Linked DNA regions of Homo sapiens: all the other regions are linked to region 1. Evidence: promoter capture Hi-C in 16 types of primary human blood cells and fetal thymus (Javierre and others, 2016). All regions are on one chromosome and are shown on one strand. The core of a region is centred on a gene start or on the middle of the fragment in contact, and the rest is flanking DNA. Distances in the headings are between cores, read along the strand shown. Region 1 holds the start of MIGA1 (mitoguardin 1). Region 2 overlaps SASS6 (SAS-6 centriolar assembly protein). Region 3 overlaps TRMT13 (tRNA methyltransferase 13).

What was found. Contacts are between HindIII fragments. The CHiCAGO score rates a contact against its expected background, and 5 or more counts as called.
Region 2: a contact is called between a fragment that was not itself captured here and the fragment with the promoter of MIGA1 in region 1, in 6 of 17 cell types (naive CD4 T cells, non-activated CD4 T cells, total B cells and 3 more). The highest score is 11.5, in naive CD4 T cells.
Region 3: a fragment that was not itself captured here is called in contact with the fragment with the promoter of MIGA1 in region 1 in 1 of 17 cell types (total CD4 T cells); the score reaches 5.0 in total CD4 T cells.

The regions. Positions count from the first base shown.
Region 1 is chr1:77,777,394-77,781,653 of GRCh38, reverse strand. It overlaps MIGA1 (mitoguardin 1), which reads right to left and starts at 2,005. Exons shown (of 16, transcript NM_001416120.1): 1 at 1,918-2,005. It also overlaps the pseudogene RNA5SP21. RefSeq lists an enhancer at 2,029-2,118. The HindIII fragment of the contact is 6,952 bases long and covers 1-4,260 here.
Region 2 is chr1:100,128,248-100,132,608 of GRCh38, reverse strand. All of the region lies in intron 1 of SASS6 (SAS-6 centriolar assembly protein), which reads left to right. Among named protein-coding and RNA genes, the nearest start is that of SASS6, 2.5 kb to the left of the region's middle. RefSeq lists a silencer at 1-57 and an enhancer at 1,672-1,721. The HindIII fragment of the contact is 1,498 bases long and covers 1,332-2,829 here.
Region 3 is chr1:100,148,104-100,152,835 of GRCh38, reverse strand. It overlaps TRMT13 (tRNA methyltransferase 13), which reads right to left. Exons shown (of 11, transcript NM_019083.3): 10 at 4,510-4,732; 11 at 2,340-4,211. The coding sequence ends at 4,016. It overlaps LRRC39 (leucine rich repeat containing 39), which reads left to right. Exons shown (of 10, transcript NM_144620.4): 9 at 312-451; 10 at 3,739-4,388. The coding sequence ends at 3,794. Among named protein-coding and RNA genes, the nearest start is that of TRMT13, 17 kb to the right of the region's middle. The HindIII fragment of the contact is 4,457 bases long and covers 733-4,732 here.

The sequences.
Region 1 (4,260 bases), core at 756-3,255:
TGATTAAAAAGTACAGAGGAAACCATGAACAGTTAAGAAAGTGAAAAATGGTCCTCTGGAGAATAAGACAAGGGATATAGAAAAGCTGGGCAAAGAATGACTGCTTTTCCTTATAAGTCTGTTTGTAATACTTGATTTTTAAAAACCTGCCTACATGTATTACTTTTTTAATATTACTACAGTAAAAAGGAAGTGGGGGGAAGCTCATTTATTCTTCCCCCTCCCTAAATATTAACACATTTTATTTTGAGAAACATTTTTACTAATTAGATTCTGGATCATTAAGCAATCTATGCTACTGCATTTAAAAAACGTATTGAGTAATTCACCCAAAGTAATTTTCCCTATAATGGAGCATTCCAAATTTTTAAGCAGAATAGAAAGAAAATAAAGCAAACACTTTAATTGGCTGCAGAGATATTCTTAAAAGATTATGACAAACCTCGGCCAGGCGTGGTGGCTCACGCCTGTAATCCCAGCATTTTGGGAGGCCGAGGTGGGTGGATCAGTTGAGGTCAAGAGTTCAAGACCAGCCTGGCCAATATAGCGAAACCCCATCTCTACTACAAATACAAAAAAATTAGCCAGGAGTGATGTCGGGCGCCTGTAATCCCAGCTACTCGGAAGGCTGAGGTAGGAGAACTTCTAGAACCCTAGGGGCGGAGGTTGCAGTGAGCAGAGATCACGCCATTGCACTCCAGCCTGGGCGACAGAGCCAGACTCCGCCTCAAAAAAAAAAAAAAAAGAAAAAAGAAAAAATATTATGACAAACCTCTATTTTTGCATTCTAACTACCTCATTCTTTTTCATTTAATATTACTGAGGAAGTTGATTCCAAACCTAATCATTATTCATTGAAAAACTAAAGAAAAAAAAACAAAAAACTAGTCATTTCATTTGCTTTCAGAAGCATAATAAAAATAAACATGAAGGGGGTTTCATGATTATTCAAATTTATAGACGGAATCTATAAAACATAACCAAAAATATTGTCCTGTGTGATATTACTTGCTCCTCTACATTCCAACTACTGGGGAATTAAAAATAAGTGTCATAAACAGTTTCTTAGACATCTTAAAATTCTATCCTGCAACTTTGACTTTATAATCCAACAGGAAGGAAAGTCTGAAGTATCAAAAAGAAAATTGACGTGAAGCACAAATCTATATAACCTAACTCTGACACTTTGAACAGAGCAAACATGTTTAGCTGCAATAACAACAACAATAAAACAACAATAATAAAGGTTTCAAAGTCCTGTGCAAAAACAAGCTGAGTCTTCCCTCTGGAAAATAGATAATTTAACAACTTTACAGAAGGACCTGACACCACAATACTCCCGTGCTAAATTATTCTCTTAAAGCACCTGCAAAGCAGAGTAATCTTTCACATCCAAAAGCCACTCCCTGCTCAAAACCACCCGCATCCAAGCCGAACCTGAGACCTCACCAGCTGCCCTACCTCCAGCGCGCTCTCCCCCGACCCCACAGCAGCCCCTCGCGGAGCTCTCCTCTGCTGTCTTCCTTTTTCTTTGCCAAGAACACCAGAAAAGGGGGTCCCTCCAGCTCGGCCGTCCAGACCCTTCCTCTGGCTCAGAGCAGTGGCGAGCCCATCCCAATTCCGCGCTTCCTTTGCAGGCCTCCCTCTGGCGTGGGGACCCTCCTGCTTTCCTATGCAAGTACTAACCAGGCCCGACCCTGCTTAGCTTCTGAGATGAGACGAGGTCGGGGGTGTTCAGGGTGGCACGGCCGTAGACCCTCTGGCTTTCCGCCGCTCCACCTGGCACTCCGAGAGCTAACGCCAGCGATGGAGTCCGCGCCACCCCTGCCCCGAGGCCTCTGCCCCAACTGCGTGGCCGCTCAACTCTCCGCTTCCTCCCGCCCGCCTCTCCACCCCACCCCGCCCCTGGCCCTGTACCTGGAGCTCCAGGCCAGGTACAGCTGGCCTGCCCACGCCAGCTTCCCAGCTGATGCCTGGCGCTGAGCAGCAGTCTGACATGGAGAAGGCGGAGTCCTTCCGGGGTCAGGAGTGCGAAGGTGGAGAGAAAGTGGAGGGGGCCTTCCAGGCTTTCTGCGTGAGGGACTACGTGTGAAGCAGCTCCCGCCATTTTTGTTTAGGGTAGAGGCTCCTTCCTCGTCAAGTGGATGCAAAAACTATATTCGAAGAATTGCATCCTTTTACAAACCGGTAAAAAAAAAAAAAAAAAACTAGTATTGTAGTTCGTAACCTGTCGGGGGATCTAGAACGGTTGTCAATCTGGTAAAAATTATGGAGGGTTTCCCCTGGAAAAAAAAAAATGTGTATACACATGCTCATTACATTAAAGAAAAAAAAGTTACACAATTTCAAAACCCTGAAAACAAGATTAAGAACTTCTACCACAGGCCCTCAGCCCTCAGATGAATGAGTGTTAAGAGGCATTCCAATCCGGTATAGATGATGCATTTATTATTGATTTCATGTCCTCTTTACCTTTTTTTCTGTGTTTCCCACTGAATTAGGCAACCGAAGAATATTGAATGTGGCAATTTATTGGCAGAGTAGTCACCTCTCTCAGGTTCTAATACATAGTAAACTAATAGGGGGCCGGGTTAGGAAAAAATAACAACAACAAAACCCAAGGTACTGTTTCTACGTTCAGTCTTCAGTCAAAACATTCCATCAGAACTGCAGATTTAGGCGGGGCACGGTGGCTGAAGCCTGTAATCCCAGCACTTTGGCGGGCCAAGGCGGGCAGATCACTTGAGGTCAGGAGTTCAAGACCAGCCTGGCCAACATGGCGAAACCCCATCTCTACTAAAAGTACAAAAATTAGCCAGGCACCTGCCTGTAATCCCAGCTACTCGGGAGGCTGAGGCAGGAAAATCGCTTGAACCCGGGAGGCGGAGGTTGTGTGAGCCCAGATAGTGCTACTGCACCCCAACCTGGGTGACTAGAGTGAGACTCTGTCTCAAAACAAAAAACAAAACAAAACAAAACAAAACAAAAAAACTGCAGATTTAAGAATTCCAGTTGCTGAGCATATTTGTGGTGAAAAGCCAAAATAATTCTGTTTTCAAAATTCCCATTTAACCAAATGGAAAATAGAATAGTAGTACCAATTTATGATATTATTAGATTAATAATAACTAACGATCCACAGACTGGGTTTTATGTGAAAATATTTTGCACTTATAGGGTAAATGGAGCTCTTGAGACTTGAAGAACCTGAAATTTGTAAGGCTATTTTCATTTATTTTCCCAATTTCCTCCTCTTTCCCATTTCCCACAGCTTCCAAACATTCAACGTAATGAGAATAGCAGTAATGATGATGACTACCACTCAACACAACTTTCCTGAGACCATATTATCTCCTTAATTCCACAATAAACATTATGAGAAAAATAGTATTACACGGTGGGTACAGAGTTTATTCTTTAGCATGAGAATAAGATATGTCACATTTAGGCCAAGTGAGGTGGCTCACATCTGTAATCCCAACACTTTGTGGGGCCGATGAGGGAGGATCCCTTGAGGTAAGAAGTTCGAGATTAGCCTGGGCAATAGCAAGACCCTCATTTCTACAAAATAATAATAAAATATATAAAATAGAAATATCACATTTAATTTATGTTTATAAACCAAATGTAATTTGCTGTAAGCCTCCCTTCTTCTGGTTTGGCAGAGTACTGCACTCAATCTTAGCCATTATTGGATATATTAGTTAACATATTCGCTACAAGTAAAAGAAAACCAAACAAGTAGTGGTTTAAACCAGAAGGACAGGGGACTCAATGTCTTCTGATATTGGAGACAAGGAAAAAAAAATTGGAGCCTGGATTAATTCTGAAGGCCAGTACCTCCCCCAGATAACCAAGCCATCGTGTAATGCTCACTAAACCAGAGAATGGAGTTCATGGAGTACTACCAGTTGTTTCTTCTGTACAAGTACTGCAATACATGCTACAGCAACCATTAATGAATTTAGGGGATCCTATCTGCATAATATCAAAACAAAACTGTGAAGTCAGACTGCCTGGGTTTGAATCCTTTCTTGGCCACTTACTAGATGCATTGTTAAAGGAAAAGAAACACAAAGCTATTTTTCTGTAGTTTCAACACTTCTGACTCCAAATGTGTGGAGGTTTTTCCCCACCAAACAAGTCTCCAATTATTTCTTATTATAAACTCCACTCTTTAATTTAGTGTCTACCAACTGGGTGTTGTACAGTTAAATTTAATTCAATACTATGCACCAAACCCTTAAGGGCTCAGTCCTA
Region 2 (4,361 bases), core at 831-3,330, about 22 Mb before region 1:
GGCCCGGTGGTTACCTCTCTCACCAAGTCGGCCGTTGCAGAGGGGACTGGAGGAAGGGTGTGAGGAGTTAGGAAGCCGGCTCACATCAAGTTAATGTCAAAAACCCTACCTGTGCACGGAATCGTGAAGATTATAGCCCTACTCTTCCCTTTTGACAGATAAGAACTCTGGCCCAGAGAAGTTAAAAAAATTTACGTGAGGGCTCACAGCCAGTTCATGGCAGGGTCAGGACTAGAACTCAGGCCTTGGCTCCGAGCCTTTCCCCCTCGTTCTCTTTTGAAGTATGTTGGCAGTAAAGTTCAACTTTTAAAAACCTACCAATTTGGTGGCGTACTTTGGCTCTTCACATCAGTTGCTTTAAAAAAGTAAATTACATTTAACCGACTAAAAATGAGAAAAGCAGAAACGTCATTAATTCATTCAATAAATATTGCCTCCTTGTAAAACACCTTACTGGGCACTGGGAATACAGTGGTCAGGAAAAACAGTCCTTTTCTTCATGGAGTTTACAATCACTGGAGGAAATAAAGACCAGTCGCACAGAGAAGTGCAACTTTGATTAAGGAGGTGGTATTATTGGGGCGTAAATAGATTTGACCAGAGGTCAGGAGACTTACTTTTTTTTTCTCAGTTCTAACACTCAATGGTTGTCTCTTTTTTTCTCTGAACGTTCTTTCCTCATTTGTAAAACTGATATAACATGCGTATTCACGTGTTTGTAATGAGGATCAGGTGTGAAATCTTTTGCGTATTCACGTGTTTGTAATGAGGATCAGGTGTGAAATCGTATGTGAAAACTAAGTGGTGTACAAATGTAACATAAAAAATGAAGACATTGCCTTATTGAGTTGCCAGTAATGTCAAACTGTAGTATATATAGTTCAGAATTCGGTCAAAAATCAATGGCAAGCCGGTCAAGGAGATGGTCCCAAAACCAGCAGCTGCATATGGAGATCTGTAGGTTTAGTTGATCATTCTTTTAATGCTGTCCAGTATGGTAGCCACTAGCCACATGTGGTTATTAGACATTTGAAATGGGGCTTATCTGAATTGTTGTGCTTTACATATGAAAATGCACGTTGGATTTTTAAGACTTACTATGAAAAAAGAATGTAAAATATGTCAATTTTTATATTATGTGTTAAATGGCAATATTTTTGGGTATATTGGGTTAAATACAATGTATTATTAAAATTAATTTCACCTGCTTTTAAAAGTCTTTTTAAAATGTGACTTCTAGAAAATTTAAAAGTAGGCTAGGTATGGTGGCTCACACCCGTAGTCCCAGCACTTTAGGAGGCCAAGACAGGAGGATTGCTTGAGCCTAAGCTTGAGGTTACAGTGAGCTACTATTTGTGCCACTGTACTCCAGCCTGGGTGATAGAGCGAGATCCTGTCTCTGAAAAAAAAAAAAGAAAAAGAAAAAAATTAAAATTACATACCTGGCTCACATTTGTGGCTTACATTGTATCTCCATTGGACAACACTGTTTTAGAATGATTATAGAAAGATAAAGGAGGCCATGACTTTGGTTTCAATATGGAAACTCCTAGATGGTCTCTTTCTGGTTACATTGCCATCACAGTTAATCTAAAAACTCAATTTCTCTGCTTAGAAACCTTTAATATATTCCTATTATCTGTATAATAGGGGTCAGCAAACTGGAGCACATGGGCCAGTTGGCTCACTGTTTTCGTAAATAAACTTTTCTTGGAATACAGCCATGCTCATTTGTTTACATATTGTAGCTGCTTTTGCACAGGAAGGGCAGAGATGAGTAATTGTGACAGAGACCTTATGGCCCGCAAAGCCTAAAATATTTGCTATCTGGCCCTTTACAGAATAATTTGGTGATCCTTGACCTATAGGAAGAACAACCCAGACTCTCTCTCTTTCTCTCTCTCTTTTTTTTTTTTTTTCTAGACAGAGTCTCGCTCTGTTGCCCAGACTGGAGTATTGTAGCACGATTACAGCTCACTGCAGCCTTGACCTCCTGGGCCCAAGGGTTCCCCTCACCTTAGCCTCCTGAGTAGCTGCAATTACAGGCGCATACCACCACGCCTGGCTTTTTTTTGTTGTTAATTTAATTTAAAAGAGACGGGGTCTCCCTGTATTGCCCAGGCTGGTCTTGAACACCTGGGCTCAAGTGATCCTCTCACCCCAGCCTCCCAAAATTCGGGGATTATAGGCGTGAGCCACCACGCCCAGCCCAGACGCCTTGGTTGAGTATTTGAGGCCAGTTCAGCTCAACAAATACTGGCAAATGTCTGCTGTGTCTCAGGAACTGTCCTAAGTGTGGAGGATGTAAATACGCACCCCCCTCTCCGTCCCCAACAACAACAAAAGCCAACAAAAACCTCTTTTCATTCTGTCCCTCAAGGAACTCACATTTTAATAGGGGAAATAAGATTTTCCTTGAACAGGCACCATAGCACAGATTAGGAGTTCAGGCTCTGGAGCCAGATTGCCTGGGTTTAAGTCCCAGTTCTTCCACTTACTGACAGATCTTGTACAATTTCCTTCTCTGTGTCTCATCTTTAAGTTGATGGTAATAACAGTACCTACTTCATGGTATTATGAGAATGGAATGAATTATACATATGAACTGCTTACAACAGTGACTAGAGCATAATAAATGTTCACTAAATTTTAGGTATTAATGTGTGACAAATGCATAAAGTAATATAAGTACACTAAAGTCAGAGAAGAAGGAAATTCAGTTGAGGACAGTGGTAATGATCAGGGAACTTCATCTGGTGGAAAATTATGCAAAATTTTGGAACCCATGATTTGACACTAATCTGCCTTTTCAGTTTTGTTTCCTAAGCTTATCTCTCCAATATGAAAGTCATACAAGCATTCTTGTTACCTTCTGAATATACCTGATACTCATTCTATACTATTACCCCTGCTGTTCCTTGTGCCTCAAATGCTTTTTTCTTTCATAACTTTCAGGTATGTCTTAAATCCTTTCACTATAAGGACCCTTCAAAGTTGCCTAAGTTGAAATGAATTGCCATTATTCAGTTATTAGATAGTGTGGTGTAGGTGAAAGATCTGAGTTTTCATTTGGGCTCTGTAATGTGACCTTAAACCATTATTTGGGCCTTAAGTTCTTCTTTTGTAAAATAAATAATATTTACTTATCAAGATTATTGTTAAATAAGATGATATATGTAGAATACCTGGCAGGTACTCAGTAGTGTTGGTAACCCTTCCCTCCCCTCTCATGGAGCCCTAAAATGCAATCAGAAGCAAATCTAGCAAAAAGTCATTAATCTCATCTCAATTTGAGGACAGAGACCATGGTTTTTTTTGTTTTGTTTTGTTTGTGTCATCCTATGTTCAAAAATTATTATTTTTTTTTTTTTAGAGAGAGGCTGTCACTCTGTTGCCCAGGCTAGAGTGTTGTGTCATAATCATGGCTTACTGTAATCTCAAACTCTTGGTCTTAAGCTCTCCTGCTTCAGCTTCCAGAGTACATGAAACTACAGGCATGCACCACCATGCCTGGCTCATTTTATAAATTTTTTGTAGAGATAGGATTTTGCTATGTTGCCCATGCTGGTCTTGAACTCTTGGCCTCAGGTGATCCACCCACCTCAGCCTCCCAAAGTGCTGGGATTACAGATGTGAGCCACTGTGCCAAGCCCCTGGACCATGTTTATTTCTGTTTGTATCCCTAGCACCTGGCACAATACCTGGCTTAAAGTACCTTTTATTTGTTTGATTGATAGTTTAAGAGCACAGCTACTGGGTGTCAGAGATGGCCTAGAATCCAGTTGTGCTAAAGCAAGCCTGATGTTTAGAATACTTTTTATTTAGAAGAACTCATAACTAAATCTAATGTCATTAGTATTAGACATCTATTGAGTACGACATCTATTGAGATGAGAAATAACATTTTATTGAGTTTTTATTGTTTTATATTGCTCTTATGACATTAACCATTATAAGGGAAAAAATAAGATTTGTGATTTTAGTTAGCGTATCCTCTGAAAGCTTGTATTTTTCTACAGCATATTTCTAGGGATGTTTTTTAACTAAGCATGGGGAATTCGTTTAACTTACAGGCCTTCCGTTTTTTCTTTCAACATCTAATGTATATAGGCATTTGGAATATATGCAACAATATCATTAATATGATTGGTAAATTGTCATAGTAATATAACTCTTCCAGGATTATGTAAAGAACACTTTGATAAGTGAATTCTTCTTGTACTTTTTGCAAATATATGAAGTATGACAGGACTTTTAAAACCGTAAAACACCGTCTAGGTGCAGTGGCCCACGCCTGTACTGCTATCACTTTGGGAGGCTGAGGTGGGCAGATCACTTGAGGTCAGGAGTTTGAGACCAGT
Region 3 (4,732 bases), core at 1,712-4,211, about 22 Mb before region 1:
AGAATCACTTGAACCCGGGAGGTGGAGGGTGCCATGAGTCCAGATCATGCCACTACACTCCAGCCTGTGCAACTAGACTAACAGTTGCTTTTATAAGCTTTGAAAGTAAGTTGTCTAAAGCTAGTGTTTTTTTTTCTCTTAGGAAAAAAACATAAGATTCTTGAGATATATCACATCTCACCAAGTCGTTCAGTTATTGAAACCAGTTAAAAACGAGTAATTTAGTATATTATCATTTGACCTTTCTCCAGGGAAATAAATGTACACTTCCATGACACCTATAAAAATACTGTTTTTTGATGAACTTCTAGGTTTGTCAACTTCAGAGACAACCCACTGAAATTGAAAGTATCACTTCCTCCCAGTGAAGGCACAGATGAAGAAGAGGAACGGGAATTATTTGGCCTTCAGTTTATGCACACATACATACAAGAGTCACGGAGAAGAGCAGGTATAAGATTTGTATATAACACAGATTAAATGTTTTTTGGTAGAGTAATGTGTGTATCACTAACTGCTGCCTTTTGATTAATTCCTTTATATATTTCTCATTCCATCTTAAGTTTTCTGTCAAATTCTGTTCTCTTAGTCAATATTGTGGGAAGAAAAAAAGTGAAATAGAGAGAGAGGTTTTAAAGATATTCAAAGTCTTTCAAGTGGGGGAAGGAAATAAATCCTTTGGCTAAGCATCTGAAGTAAAACCAAGTGAGTGAAGACATGATTCTTAAAGCTTTGCTACCTCATTCTACCAGCTTGCCACACATAGCAGTTTGACCATGAACTGACCTTCCCTGTCATTCCATAAATAGAAAAAAAAATTTACCTAGGGATGAAAAATATTGAGAACACAGTTTTTTGTTTGTTTGTTTGTTTGTTTGTTTTAAAGAGATGAGGTCTTACTATGTTGCCCAGGCTGGAGTGCAGTGGCTATTCAAAGGCACAATCATAGCTCACTGTAGCCTTGAACTCCTGGGCTCAAGAGATCATCCGACCTCAGCCTCTGAAGTAACTGGGGCTATCAGTGCATGCCACCACGTCTGGCTGAGAACACAGATTTTAATGAACAAAGTGTGAGGTTTTGATATAGAGATTTCAATCACTTAGTCTCTGATAATTAATTGAGGGCCTTTAAGCTAAACCAAGATCAGGGGAAGAGGACAAAGTGCACAATTATTTGTTAATAAAAACAATGAAACAATAGTAACAGAAATCATAGTCTTATAATTTTAAAATGTTAAGAATTTTTAACTTAAAAGGTAGATTTTAGTTCAACTTAATGCAACAACTAGTTTGAAAAATGAATATAACTGAGAAGACAATGACAGAGTTTTTCAGCTAAAGGAAATAATTTTTACTAACATTCAGTGGAGGATGTTTAGGAAATGGTGATTAGATTTATTGCAGCAAGGTCATAGAAGCAATGACATGGAGACAGATTGGGGGAAGACAGGCAAAAAAGTCATAATTGTGACCTAGTTTTGGAAAGCAGAGAATATATAAAGACAATTAGGAGACAGAATTGGTAATTGAATGAAGATGAGAAAAGGGAGTTTACAATGAATGTTTTTGGTTTAGAGGGCAACTGGATAGATGGTGGTGCTAAGATGGAGAATGAAGTACAGAAGATGGGTTGGCGAATAGAATCAGGTGGTAGAGGCAGAAGATGATTTCTAATTTTGGCAGTCTTTTTTTTTTTTTTTTTTTTTTTTGAGGAGTTTCTCTCTGGTTGCCCAGGCTAGAGTGCAATGGTGCAATCTCGGCTCACTTGGCAAATTTCGCCTCCCAGGTTCAAGTGATTCTCCTGCCTCAGCCTCCTGAGTAGCTTACAGGCATGCACCACCACGCCACGCCCCACTAATTTCGTATTTTTAGTAGAGACAGGGTTTCACCATATTGGTCAGGCTGGTCTCGAACTCCTGACCTCAGGTGATTCACCTGCCTTGGCCTCCCAAAGTGCTGGGATTACAGGTGTAAGCCACCACACCTGGCCCTTAGCAGTAAATTTGATGCACCTGTGGAACATGCAAGTTGTGGTAATTGTGCAGGTGAATCTGAAGTTCAAGAAGAGGTTTGTTGAATCTGAAAATTCTGCAGGACAAGAAATAGCTGTATGCATATCCCACAGTCACTTTCTCATGATATGTGAAGACAAATTAACAGTTAGGAAAACAATAATCCTGACCTAAGGCTGGCATGTTGAAGGACAAACTTATCTTCCTTTAAGGTACTTGATACCATTGTCAGAAACATACCATTAAGCTAAATGGGCCACAGAACTGTTTCTGTATGATAATTCTTGGGTGTGTATGTATATTTTATCAAACATAAATGAGATTATGCCTGTTGTAGAATATTGTTTATTTCTGGGCATAAATTGTTGAATGATGCAAAACAAATTTTATGACACAAATTAGTATTGCTTGACACAATAAAAAAAGGTTAATTATTTAATGATATATCTTCATTTAGGTTCCCTTGATTGGGGACATGGGTAACTAACTTAAACAAACTACCTTACTTGACATAAAACTTATAACAAGGGAAAAAAGTTAACAACTTAAAGAGATAATAAAATCAAAGCCTATTATGTTATTAAAAAGATTCACGAGTTACTACCACTACTATTACTAGTTAATATTTATTGAATTACTCTGTGCTTGGAACTGTTCTATGCATTTTACTTGTGTTATCTCATTTGATGCTCACAACAACCTTGTGAGGTAGGTATTATTGTTATCATCATCATCCCCATTTTAAAAGGAGGAAATTGAGGCACAAAGAGATTAGGTAGCATGCCCAAGGTCGCACAACTGAAGATGGTAGGTTTGGAATTTGAACCGAGACAGTCTGACAAGATATATGAGACTAAAGTCAGGAATTTTAAATTGGTTAGGCTTCTTATTTACAAATCATATAATCATAGAACTACAGGATAAAAATAGTTATTTCAGAATATCATAATATCTAAAATTAGTAATTCTGAACCTTTGTCTTGGCAAATGTACCATCAATTAAGACAATTTTTACAAATAAAGGCAGAAACAAAATAGGGATAAGATGCAGAAGAGAATAACAGTCCTACCATATATTTGGTTTAGTATTTTCTTGTGCATAGAAACCAGTCATGAGTTAAATAAGGCCTAAATTTGAGAAGGTTTTTGGTTTCATTATCTAATTTCTATTTTATTCCAAATTATTTTCCCAAACAGAAGAGAACATACTTATTGTTTGTGCCTACATATATAAAAAATGACCTGATAAAAGATATGAGATAGCTAATCAACTTCAGAAATTATTTCAAATTTGTGAATTATGTTTGTAAGTATCTTTTTGGAAGTTCTAACTAGACAATTATCCAACAAAATAATTAAGTGAAATAATCTTTTTTCTTTGAAAACAGCTCTTCAGTTTTGTGTTTGTCATGGACAGATTCTGACAATATATACATGTATGGCTCTGGAAATTTGAAGGTGACTTCATTAATTAATTGTGTTTATTAATTGTGAATATCTCTGAATTGTCTGCATTTGAGAAAATCACAATTGTGCTTTCCAGATCTGTAGGGAAAAATGTCCACATATAAGTCAAATTCTCAGATTGGCCCTTGTTACAATCAATCACTACCTCTTGAACTTAAGAAATAAAAAATATTAAATAAAATCAAAGGAAGATAAATTTCCAAAATTAATACAAACAGAAATACGCTAATTATGTGTTGACATGTTATGTATGTTTCAGATCACCAAGTCAACGGTTCAACTACTTTACCAATCTCCATAAATACGGATGGATAATATAATTCAAGATGCCCTTCTAAAGAGGATTACTTTGGTGAATTCTCTAATGTTTGGATTTCTGAAGTAAAAAGAAAAGCTATTACCAAAGTTTAATGAGGCCACAGCATTTTTTAAAGTTCATATTATTTGCTATTTAAAGTATATATTTTTTTGATATAAAAATATAATTAAAAAATTTTTTTTGGTGGAAGACAGATGATGCTCAAATTTCTTTTCCATTAAGCAGTTGTTTCTGGTGATGAAGAATGATTTGGTAAAGCAGTTAACAAAACATTTTCCAAAGACACCAGAGGGTCTGTATAGTACTGCAAAGCAGGACTGAATCCCTTCTGCTGCAAATACTGGATTCGACCTTGGTCAATCAGCAATTTACAAAGATGCCCTATTTTCTTCTTTTCTTCAACACTAAGAAGCCTAAATTGAATAAACACACACAAAACATTGTTAAAATTTTGCAAAAGTTTATAAAAAATTATTTTTGTCACTATTTATTGAGAGACTGTTAACTAACCCATAATGTACTAAGTACTTTGTCCCATGCTTCCAAGACACATTATATTTATGACCACAATAAAAGATGTGTATATTTTAGCTTATTCTAAAATTAGATTATAAAATACATTTTCATGAATTGTTGATAATAGTCATCTAAAGTACAGTACAATATAATATTTCTCCTTTAGTATCATGCATTACAAAAGTAGTCTCTTACCCAGGCAAACAATCAGCGCCATCATCTGTGATTCTGTATCCTCCATCATCATGCTCTTCACTATCATCATTCTGATTATCTTGCCTCTTTGTGGTACTATTTGAGGTTTCCAAAGATGTTTTCCGCATCCCACAAGTTGCCCAACTACTCATTCGCTGGAAATAATGGAATTCCACTGCTCCAAGGCCTAGAGCCCTGAAATATTCTTTGCCCACATAATGTC